Regions from separate parts of the Homo sapiens genome. Here regions 2, 3 and 4 are each linked to region 1. The links are contacts of gene promoters, found by promoter capture Hi-C in human tissues and cell types (Jung and others, 2019). All regions are on one chromosome and are shown on one strand. Each heading gives the region's core, a stretch centred on a gene start or on the middle of the fragment in contact. The rest is flanking DNA. Distances are from core to core; before and after follow the strand shown.

Region 1 (2,746 bases), core at 200-2,699:
TAACTCGGAGAGAAAATGGAAAGAAAACAGAAGATAGGGAAGAATAGCCAGTGCATCCCCTGAAGCAGAGAAAGTATTAACTGGTGCTCGGCGCGGTGCCAGAGAACAGCAAGCGGATGTGGGCGTTGAGGAGGGCTGTGTGATTTACGGCAACTACTTAGGGGGAAAACAAAAAGGCACCCATCATTTGGCCACCTCCTCCTCCTCCTCCTCCATCCTACCTCCTCTTTCCATCTGGTTACTAAGGAGACCAAGTTGAAAAAACAAAAATCCAACCAGTCCAGAAATCAAAGGATGACTAGCTCACCAAATGCTTTCCCCTACTCAGGTCAGTTCTGAGAAGTAAAAGGCAAAAATCCTGAAATTCTAACCTTCCTGGGAAGGACTGACTCTCTTATAAAACAGAAGGCAAGTTCAGGACCTAAGCAATCAAGAAGTGCCTACTATGTGCCAGGCCCTTTACAAACATCCTCTCATTTAATTCTTACAACACTTAAAAAGTGTAAGTGAAGAAGGTACTTTGTAAGGAAGAGGAGGAAAAGTGGAATCCTTAACCCTAAAAGACTACAAATTAAGAAGCAGGGGCGTTAAGCATAAGTAATTAAACTGGTTAAGAGATTAGAGAGTAGGTCTCTACTGCGGAAGGAACTCCCACAGGAGTGGGAGTGAGGAAACTGATCAGGTGGTTTGGGAGCGGTTAGGGGAAAAGGTGAAGACAGCTCAAGGCCTGGCCGGTCCGTCGTGGTTGCGGGTGGGTGGTGGTGGAACTGATGAAGTCCAAGTTCAGGGCCGGGGAATTGGGGCTAATCAGATCGGGTGCACTTGGGTTTGGAGCCGACTGACCAGGTCCTGTCTGTACTATTACTACATTCGGATCAGACGTGATGGGGCACAGAGGGCCTACAGGTGAGAAACCTGCCAAGCTCAGAGAAGTGGAAGTTCATGGGAAAAGCATGCCTCCTTGTTAGGAATGGAACCGCCACAGAAGAGGTCGAGGATGGCGGAAGACAAACAGGACCAGGAGGCCAGGAGAAGCAAGACGAGAAAGCGGGGATGGTGTTAAGATGTCCCTGAGGGACAGGCAGAGGCTTGGAGAACAAGAAGAGAAAGAACAGGGATCAAGGGAAACGGAGAACAGCCCCTGCCTGGGAAGACTCGAGCGACGTAGGGGCAGGGTCGGAGCGGGGCCGGTCCCCGACCCCGGCCCCTTCAGCCGGTACCTACTTGAGGTCCCGGTTGACCGAATGTAAGTTGTCCTGGAAGTGCGCAATAAAGGCCTTCTCCCGGCCCTCCAGCGTCTCCTTGTTCCGCATCCCATCCTTCAGGCAGTCGAACACCCTGCTCACGCTGGAGCGCAGCGCCTGGATGGCACTAATGGCCTGGGAAAAGGCCTCCAGGTTCACACTGACATTTATCACGTCCGCCATGTTGCCGCCGCCACAGCAGCTCTCCAAAGCCGGCTTCGCAAGCAAAAAAGCCGCGCTCGCTGATGACGTATCTCCGAAGACCTCTGGGAAATGCAGTTCGCGCGGGGCTACCCAGAAAGCACTTTCGAAAAAGGGTTTCCCCTTGAGCTAAACTAATGCATGGGCAGGAAAGTGATTTTTCTCAACTTGGGGAAGTCAGGTTGCACTCCCGGTTTGCTTAATGGTGACAAAGAAATACAGAAAGTTCCCGCATTTCCCCAAACTTGCACTCTGGGGAATCATAGGGAAAAGAATTGCTCAGAGCAATAGTGTAAAAAGGAAAGGAACATAGCCCATTCAATAAAATGAGTCCATATTCATAAATAAAGCGGGGAGAAGGAAAGTTTCTTCTTTCCAATAGAATGCCAGCTCATAAATGCAGAAAGAGTGATGGAATTAGAAAATTGCCATTTGACAGCCATTAGAATAATTGATTCAGATAGAAATCGATGGATGCTAAAACTAGTGGGTGAAAGTGTCAGAAAAATAACAGGCTTTTTAGGTAATCTCAAAGTATCGTCCCCCAAGATGCTTATTAATTAAGAAGAGGAAAATAATGATCCAGAGATTCCACTTCTGGGCATATACCCAAAAGAAGCGAAAGCAGGGACTCAATACCTGTACACATGTTCATAACAGCATTATTCACCAAATAGCCAAAAGGCAGGGGAAACCCAAGTGTCCATAAACTGATGAATAAACAAAGTGTGATACTGGCATACAATGAAAAATTCTTCAGGCTTAAGCAAGAAAATTCTGACATATGCTACCTGGAGGAAACTTGAAGACATTATGCTAAGTGAAATAAGCCAGTCACAAAAAAACAAAATTCTGTGTGACTCCACTTATATGAGGTGTTTAGGGTAGTCAAAATGTTAGAGACAGAAAGTAGAATGGTGGCTGGTTTACAGTGAACACACACCTCTGAAAATAACATACATAGCATAGAGGTTGTGGAAGAAAGAGAAGGTTTGGGATTTAAATAAAACCAACAAAATGTTGGCCAAATCTGGCTTTATGGAAAAATTCAATGTCTCTTTGTCCTGTTGGCTATAGACAGGTTTCTGAAAATTTATTATCTTTTTACTAAAGGGAACCTGCCCAAGTCCTCATGTTCTTTCCTTAGAGGAGCTGGGGTTGCATAGCTTGGAGCAGAGAAGAGGAGAGCAGGAGGCAGATCATGATTGTGACCTTCAACTCACCTTCATGTCAACCCAAGACAAGAGTCCTCCTTGGTTAACTAGTGGCAATAACAATAACCAGTTGTAGGAAGGCTGTAG
Region 2 (2,778 bases), core at 43-2,542, 190 kb before region 1:
GACGGATCTCTCCATGTTGTTACCCACATTTTCCAAACCATAAACTTCTATGTGGTCACCCTCTCAAATCTGCTGACCCTCCCCAGAGAATAAGAGTGAACAAGAGCCTCACCCAAGAACACAGTGTTACAGGTCTATTATTCTTCAACTTTTCACTTTCAATCAGGACATGCATTTGTTACTAAAAAACTGCTGAAAGCACAATTTCAGGGAATCCTCTGCATATGAATTAAACTGGATTCCCCTTTCCCTGGCTTTCACCCTTCCCCCTAGAAGTAACAAGAGGCCATTTTTCTGAAGGTCATCTGAACAATTTCAAAGGCTATAACAAATCAAAATGTTCCCTGCATCTGATATCAAACAGGGCTGATGCCAACACTTATTAGAGAAATCAGATTCAGCTCCCCACCCCCTCGACCCACATGCACACACACAGCCAACTTTGAAGTGGGAAGAATGCAGGGATCAGAAATTACCCTGGAGACAGCTCTGGCTGTCTTTGAAGGTTTCCTTTGATACCACCATTTCTTTTCCTCTCTTATGCTCGGAGGCTAAAAGCTGCCTTTTTTATTGATATGGGGTAATTAATGAAGCTATAGCATTAACATAACCTAAATCCCCCAAAAAGTTAAATTCGAACGAGACACATTTTTTTTTCAGTTAAGTCTGACTGGTATAAAATCAGGACAATGGCCAGGTATTCATCTTCAATCCTGCCTTTTAACATGCTGAGTCGTGGCTCTTGCTACTCCCTGAGTACAATGAATAAGTGGTTGGTAAGTCTGAAAAGCATTTTTATTTTATTAGAGGAATCAGGCTATTGGTCCTTGGTATCAAAAATATGCATTGCAGGTAAAGAGACAGGATGCTAGGGTCATGGCGGTGGTTGTTAGAGCAAAGTGCAAAGTGCAAAGTGATAGCCTTGCTGGGCTGGATTCTGATGGGGAAAAAACCTGCAAGGTCTGGAAATTAGGGGTGGTGCTGGGCCACTACAGCAGCAAGAAGGATAATGAAACTTTCGAATGTGCTGGTTGCTTTGGGCTTGGAGGACAGAGACAACCGCAGAGGCAGAAGTTAAGCCCATAGGAGGCTTCCTGAGCCACACCCAGGGCCTCTGTGGCTGTGCTCCAGGAGACTGCAGCAAAACACCCCCCTGCAGCCACCTAGGCACCAACTCAGCAAACGCAGGCTGCGTCCCGGGAGCAGCGACGTCTCCAGCAACAACGTGCTCTTGTAGAACACATGTCAGGCCCCAAGGGCTCCTTCCAGACGCCACATTTCATTTGGGATGTGCCAGACAATTCAACACATTAATTGCACTAATGCCTAGATTGTATATAAATAAAGTACACACACACAGAGTACTCAAAATAGAGCACTAATAATGTCTGCATGGTTTATTTTTATCATTTGTGAAGTGCTCTGAAAAAAAGGGGCTAATCAAATTGGCTAGGATGAGATTCTGAGTGGAACAGTCATTTGAGAGCTTCTCTGCCAAATGTGGTCAGTGTGTCCTTAAAATAACAAAGAGGCCTGGTTCTCTCGGTCTTGCAATTTCCACTTTTAGGGTCCCTGCTTAAGCACTGCTTGGGCCAACGCATACAGTTGTAAAGGGGGACGCAAGGCTTCCTGTCCAACCACATTTCTGATGTCAACCAGGGTCCCAAATGTACAGCCATTTTCCTTCGGAGAAAGAGAGAGGCCGGGCTAATCTCTCATCAGGAGGGCCTGAGGTCTCCCTTTACTCGTGTGTCTCCTTTATCCTCTGACTTATTTACAACTTCAATTACTGCCGCTCCTTTTAGTCCCCATTTCTCATTTTTGATTCTCCACTTTCCATTCCAGCTTAAGCATTTTCATATCCCAAGTAGGCTTTTTCATCATCTCCTCCCAGACAGGACTGGGCTCCTACCGTGCTCCTGGCACAGAAGTGCACCCTACAGACAGACAGTCACACGATGGAGCCTGTGCCCTTGAGGAGCTCCTGGTAGATGCAGGATTGAGATCCAGCCCTGTGTGGCTGTGGGCAACGTTACCATTCTAGGTCTCAGTTTCTCCATGTGTAAGATGAGTCTAAGAGCAGCACCTGTCTCATGATGCTGTGAGGAGGATTCGACAGCCACCGTGGGCAAAGTTCGCTTTGTGCAGTGCCTGCCTGACCAACGTATGTTAGTATTGTTAGTATTTTTATTAATTGCAAGATGGACATGTAAATAATCATGATGCACCAATTCTAGTACTAGGAAAAGATTGTTCTGAATTCTATGGGTGTATGGATAATGATGATAACTCTGTGCTGTAAGGAGAGGCAAACCCAGGTCGGCCATCTCTAGAGCCCATGTTCATAAGCAAAGAGGCTCTTGGGAAAATGGAGACAGGATGGGAAGGAAGATGGCATTCAGCCACTGTAAAGGGAAGAGTAAAACTTTGTCAGCTGGACTAGGAGGGATCCCAGGGCAAAAGGCACAAAACGTGCAAATACGTGAAAGAGTCTGGCATGTCATGGAAGCTACAGGGAGCACGCGGCTGGAGATAAGATGAGGTGTGTGTAGAGAATGATGCCAGATGAAGTCAGAAAGGAAGGCAGAGGCTGCGCCATGAGGCATTTAGACGCCTTGCAGAGGAGTCTGGATTTTATGCTACAAGCCAGAGTTTTCAGAAGTATATTCTACAAAATGGCAATGTCACAATATGCTCTAAGAATAAAAGAAGATAAAAAGAATTTGGTGGCCAAATAAGTTAGGAAAATATTGCATACTCTCTACTCCCTGTAAGATA
Region 3 (3,030 bases), core at 175-2,674, 140 kb before region 1:
TAGGGATAGGTGTCCCCGCAGCCACGGGAAACAACTGCCTCCATTTCCTACTTGTCAGATGAGCACAGTTGGTGCTACCCACCTCGAGGGCCACAGTGAGGACCAGATGAGATAAGTGCTGTGTAAGCCACAAGACTCTGTCCACACAGACGTTCACTGTGCCATACAGACGGCTGGTTCCTCTAGGGAATTACTTCCCCTCCACTCCTTGCAGTTCTGTGGGGCTGCCAAGGCCTGACTCCCCCATCCTCTGGGCTCAGGGCAAGGAGCAACTGCAGGCTAGGCCAGCAGGAGTGTTCTTCCCAGGTTGTATGCACAGGGATGGAAGGCGGTTAATACGGAATCATTTGGGCCATGGGGCCCCCTAAAAAACGTTGTCCTGATCTTGTTCCTGACATGCCTGGAGCTACTCTGGTTTTTGTCCTGCCGGGCAGGTCAGATTAATCACTGAGTCTGATGCACCTGGCACCATCAAACAGCAAAACCAAAACCAACTCTTTCCTTATGTAAGTCAATCAGAGTTTCTGTTGACTGCATTCAAGGAAGCCCAGCCAATTCAGGAGGAAATGCCGTTTTATTTCAAAAGCACAGGCACAGTTCGTACATTTGCCGAGGGAGGTAAAGGAAGGTGTCAGCTGAGACTGCTCAAGTGCACCCTGCTTCAACGGCCTCTTAACTGGTCTTTCCCCATCAGTCTCGCTTGCCCCCAAAGCCTTCAGGAATACACTGCATTCCAGAATAAATCAATTTATTCCAGATTCATCTCCAGAAAACACTTTTTGGGGAACAGGTGACTAGCAGTAGGTAGTGGGGGAGGTGGCATCTGTTGGTCCTGCTCCCCCTCCAGGTAGGAATTCCCATCACCCACCTCACGATGGATGTGGTAGCAGTGAATAGCCTAGAGATTTGCCATCTCATAAAATTCCAACTTTTAATAGTAAATGCCAAATGCAGGCATTATGTTAAAAGTATGATTAACCCCATGGCCCATGGCAATCTGATTCTGAATCAAATCACCTACCACTGGCCCTGTAAGTAAGCACCAGCTTCTGTGAGTTCCTGTGTCGCTGAAGAAAGGTAACAAGTAGGCACCTAGATCCACGTGTCTGAATTAGCGGGGGTGGATGGGTGTTAGTGGTAGTAAATAAACAGGGCATATGAAATGTGATTCTTGCCTTGAATTGAGCCCCTAAACTCTCTCATCAGTCTATTAGGACAGAAGCTCCATGGGAAAGCAGGCGAGGTCGACCATCACTGTGAAATACATGCCTGCCTTCTCAGGTGGAAGGAACTCATCTGTGTGGCCTGTTTGCCTGGAATCCTGTTCCCTCTGCTCATTCCCTTCAATGCCAAATCCCACCCTCATTATGAAATGGGAGCTCAATGACCCAGAAATAATTTGAACAAACCTATTTCACTGAGGATGCATTCATTTTTATCTTCATTAACTCTCTGGGGCCCTGTCAGGTATGCTGAGAGCAGGGTTTATGTTTCAACTGCTAGGTCTGGGGTATCTTAAAATCTGGGCAATTTGTACATTTAACTGAGGCAGACTTTTTTTTTTTTTTGAGACAGAGTCTCGCTCTTTTGCCCAGGCTGGAGTGCAATGGCGCGATCTCAGCTCACTGCAACCTCTGGAGGCAGACGATATTTTGTGTTCTGTAGACAGATGTATTTTATATGAAGAAAACTGTTTCCCTTTTCTATGAAAAAAACATCGCATTATCTCCTTTTCTTTATGTTTTAACTGAAAGAAATTTTTTAAATATTATGTTATCCAGGTGAATGTCACTAATTTGTTTCCCCCACAAACGAAGTAACAAACATTTAACAAGCCCAGATCTTTTCCTGTCTTAAGACCAAAACACGCACGCACACACAATGCTCCCCGAAGATGAACGGCTGGAGTAAACAGTAACTCATCCTGGGTGACTGGCTATTTATAAGATTTCACACAAGTAAAATGCTAAAATATGGGGAGTTCACACTAGGCTCCAAAGCAGCAACAGCAGAATAGATGGAAAAAATACCCAGTCCTGAACCTTACCTCCCTGACGCCCATCGAAACCATCATTCTTATTCAATAAACTCTGCTTTTTATAAAATGTGGTGGTTCCTCAAAAATCTGTGTTCAGGGAAGTATTCTTCAAGCACATACAAGTATTATTACACAGACCACTAGAAAAGCTTCTCATCATTGAGGTCTCTATGCCTTCCTAATTAATAACATAATTTAGCATTTCTATCCCACTGTATTTCCAAAACACACCTGTCTTCGGTGAATTCATGCAAATACAAACATCTTCTAGGAGATTATGAGGCGATGTGTTCAGAGCAAACCATAATCAGAAACAGCAAAACCAGAAGTCATCAGTCTCAGAACACTTTCTTCAAATACATAATATTCTGGTTTTATATTAAGAGAGTGTTTTCTTTTTTTTTCTTTTTTTTTTTGAGAAGGAGTCTTGCTCTGTCACCCAGGCTGGAGAGTGCAGTGGAGTGATCTCGGCTCACTGCAAGCTCCGCCTCCCAGGTTCATGCCATTCTCCTGCCTCAGCCTCCCCAGCAGCTGGGACTACAGGCACCCACCACCACACCCGGCTAATATTTTGTATTTTTAGTAGAGATGGGGTTTCACTGTGTTAGCCAGGATGGTCTCGATCTCCTGACCTCGTGATCCGCCCGCCTCAGCCTCCCAAAGTGCTGGGATTACAGGCGTGAGTCACCGCGCCTGGCGAGAGTGTTTTCTTTAGCAGGATCCAACAGTTGAGCATCACTATTGTCTACTATACTCCTTTGGGGAAAATAGAAAACAGATTCGCCAAAACATTGGGAGGTTGCATTAAGTGACTTAAGGTGAAATGGTCTTACAGTGTCTTTCCTCTCTGGTTAAGTCTTACATGGGGTCTGAAATTTTGTTCAAAAGCAAGGTTTCAATGTGCAGAATTCTTAACCTACAGAATGCCAGTAAAGAAACTATGTTATTCACTATCAAATTGGAATTTAATCCCCATTCTCTAGATCCTACAA
Region 4 (3,144 bases), core at 239-2,738, 170 kb after region 1:
CCATGCACCTTTAGCTCGTATCTCTGTATGGCCTGGTTTTTCTTAGGTTATGATTGTAGAGCAAGGATTATTATAACATTGGAATGAAGAGTAATTGCTACAAACTAATGATTAATGATATTCATATATAATCATATCTATGATCTAGATCTAGTATAATTCTTGTTATTTTATATATTTTATTACACTGGAACAGCTCGTGCCCTTGGTCTCTTGCCTTGGCACCTGAGTGGCTTGCTGCCCACAAAGACCAGCCTGGCCAACATGGTGAAACCCCATCTCTACTAAAAATACAAAAGATTAGCCAGGGGTGGTGGTGGGTGTCTGTAATCCCAGCTACTTGGGAGGCTGAGGAAGGAGAATTGCTTGAACCCAGGAGGCAGAGGTTGCAGTGAGGTGAGATCGCACCATTGCACTCCAGCCTGGGTGACAGAGCAACACTCTGTCTGAAAAAATATATATATATATATATTACGCCACACGGAAGAAGCCAGACACAAAAGGTCAAAAAATGTATCATCCTTTTCTATGAAATGCCCAGAATAGGCAAATCCATGGGGACAGTAAGTAGACTGGTGTTCGCCAGGGGCTTGGGGAGGGGAGAAGGGGGAGTGCCTGCTTAATAGATACAAAAAATTAGCCAGGTGTGGTGGCTTATGCCTGTAATCCCAGCTACTTGGGAGGCTGAGACGGGAGAATCACTTGAACCTGGGAGGCAGAGGTTGCAATGAGCTGAGATTGCACCATTGTACTCCAGCCTCGGCAACAAGAGTGAAACTCTGCCTCAAAAAAAAAAAAGAAAAAAGAAAATTTGAAGTTTTTAGCCTCCAGTGTGGCAGCGGATTCAGGCAGGCTCATAGACAGATGCTCAAGGCACTGGTGAAGGACCTGTGGGCCACAGCGCACTCCCACGGCCGCGGAGTTTTACCCCACAGATGGCTGATTAATTACAAAGACGGGAAGCTTGTGGACACCCCCTGGAGCAAGTGACCAACTCAATGCCACCAATAACGGGACAAACATATTTTGTGCTCGTGATACAACAGCACAGGAAAGACACACCACCACTGACACAGTGTTCTTCCCCCAAATATGTAACCTGACTCTACGCACGAGGAAACAATCGGACAAACTCAGATAGTGAGGCGTTCTCTAAGATAACCGGCCTGCACTCCTCAACAATGCCCATACGTGTGCAGGAAGGCTTATGTTGGAAAAAATAATAGTAAAAACAAGAAAATAAATAAAAATGCCAATATTGTGAAAGACCAACAAAAAATAAAATAAAAAGGGAGTGGAGTTGTTCTGAATGAGGAAAACTAGATACAGGACAGCCACGCACAGTGCATGATTCTATGTTGGATCCAAATCAAATCCTTTTTAAAAAAAAAAATATAGCAATAGGCCAGGCACGGTGGCTCATGTCTGTAATCCAAGCACTTTGGGAGGCCGAGGTGCATGGATCACGAAGTCAGGAGTTCGAGACCAGCCTAGCCAATATGGTGAAAACCTGTCTCTCCTAAAAATACAAAAATTAGCCAGGCGTGGTGGCGTGTCCCTGTAATCCCAGATACTCAGGAGGCTGAGGCAGAAGAATCGCTTGAACCCGGGAGACGGAGGTTGCAGTGAGCCAAGATTGCGTCACTGCACTCCAGCCTGGGCGACAGAGTGAGACTCTGTCTCAAAAAAAAAAAACAAAAAAACAAAAAAAAAAATCAGCAATAAAGGACATCTTAGGACCATTGCAGAATTGTAACTATGGATGATATATTAGCTCGTGTTATTATATCAAGTTTAGATGTGATAATAGTGTTGTGATCATGTAGAAAAATGTCCTTATTCCAGCCGGGCGCGGTGGCTCACGCCTGTCATCCCAGCACTTCGGGAGGCCGAGGCGGGTGGATCACGAGGTCAGGAGATCGAGACCATCCTGGCTAACACGGTGAAACCCCGTCTCTACTAAAAAAATACAGAAAAATTAATCGGGCGTGGTGGCGGGCGCCTGTAGTCCCAGCTACTCCAGAGCCTGAGGCAGGAGAATGGCGTGAACCCGGGAGGCGGAGCTTGCAGTGAGTAGAGATCGCGCCACTGCACTCCAGCCTGGGAGACAGAGCGAGACTCCGTCTCAAAAAAAAAAAAAGGAAGAAAAATGTCCTTATTCCATAGAGATACATGGTGAAGTGTTTGGGAGTGGAATAGCATGACACCATAGCATACTTTCAGATTGCTCAATGAAAACTGAACACGTAGACAGAGGAGCTCATGACAGCCTGGGCAACATCACGAGACCCCGTCTCTAAAAAAAGAAAAAAAGAAACAAGGGAGTGCAATGTGGTGAGATTGGTGAATCTGGGCAATGGCTATTTAGATATTCCTTGTACTATTTCAACTTTTCTTTAAACTTAAAATTTTCAAAATAAAAATTTGGATAAGAAACAGGCCAGGCGCGGTGGCTTATACCTGTAATCCTAGCACTTTGGGAGGCTGAGGTGGGTGGACCACCTGAGGTCAGGAGTTTGAGACGAGCCTGGCCAACATGGCGAAAACCTGTCTCTATTAAAAGTACAAAAATTAGCCACATGTGATGACACATGCCTTTAATCCCAGCTCCCCAGGAGGCTGAGGCAGGAGAATCTCTGGATCCAGGGCAGCGGAGGCTGCAGTGAGCAGAGATTGTGCCACTGCAGTCCAGCCTGGGCGACAGAGTGAGACTCCATCTCAAAAGAAAACAAAAACAAAAATTAGCTGGGCCTGGTGGCAGGTGCCTGTAATCCCAGCTACTCAGGAGGCTGAGGCAAGAGAGTCACTGGAACCCTGGAGGCGGAGGTTGCAGTGAGCAGAGATTGTGCCACTGCACTCCAGCCTGGGTGACAGAGCAAGACTCTGTATCAAAAAAAAAAAAAAAGAAAGAAAGAAACAAAAAATGTTGAATGACTATTAATAGAGCTAGACTGATGTGGTTGCATTTATGAGAAGTGAGGAGAAAAATTCTATCCCTTCCACATACCATGCCCAAAAATAAATTCAAGTGGTTAAAGACATAAATGAGAAAAGTGAGGCTTTAAAACACTTAGGAGATTGATTAATTCAACTACATTAAAATAAAAACCAGCCAGGCGTGGTGGCTCACGCCTGTAATCCCAG

Evidence for each region. The method cuts DNA at HindIII sites, captures the fragments that hold promoters and counts their contacts. A contact is called where the count stands out against the background at its distance.
Region 2: a fragment that was not itself captured here is called in contact with the fragment with the promoter of MED27 in region 1 in 1 of the 25 tissues and cell types used here (dorsolateral prefrontal cortex).
Region 3: a contact is called between a fragment that was not itself captured here and the fragment with the promoter of MED27 in region 1, in 2 of the 25 tissues and cell types used here (hippocampus and lymphoblastoid cells).
Region 4: a fragment that was not itself captured here is called in contact with the fragment with the promoter of MED27 in region 1 in 1 of the 25 tissues and cell types used here (IMR-90 fibroblasts).

What each region holds. Positions count from the first base shown.
Region 1 is chr9:132,078,418-132,081,163 of GRCh38, forward strand. MED27 (mediator complex subunit 27) reads right to left here and starts at 1,450. Exons shown (of 8, transcript NM_004269.4): 1 at 1,225-1,450. The coding sequence starts at 1,427. RefSeq lists an enhancer at 1,347-1,626. The HindIII fragment of the contact is 14,332 bases long and covers 1-2,746 here.
Region 2 is chr9:131,888,743-131,891,520 of GRCh38, forward strand. All of the region lies in intron 5 of MED27 (mediator complex subunit 27), which reads right to left. Among named protein-coding and RNA genes, the nearest start is that of RAPGEF1, 150 kb to the left of the region's middle. RefSeq lists an enhancer at 638-1,169. The HindIII fragment of the contact is 5,573 bases long and covers 1-2,778 here.
Region 3 is chr9:131,936,276-131,939,305 of GRCh38, forward strand. The region is part of intron 4 of MED27 (mediator complex subunit 27); the gene reads right to left. Among named protein-coding and RNA genes, the nearest start is that of MED27, 140 kb to the right of the region's middle. The HindIII fragment of the contact is 5,314 bases long and covers 1-3,030 here.
Region 4 is chr9:132,252,846-132,255,989 of GRCh38, forward strand. No RefSeq gene overlaps it. Among named protein-coding and RNA genes, the nearest start is that of NTNG2, 92 kb to the left of the region's middle. The HindIII fragment of the contact is 6,941 bases long and covers 1-3,144 here.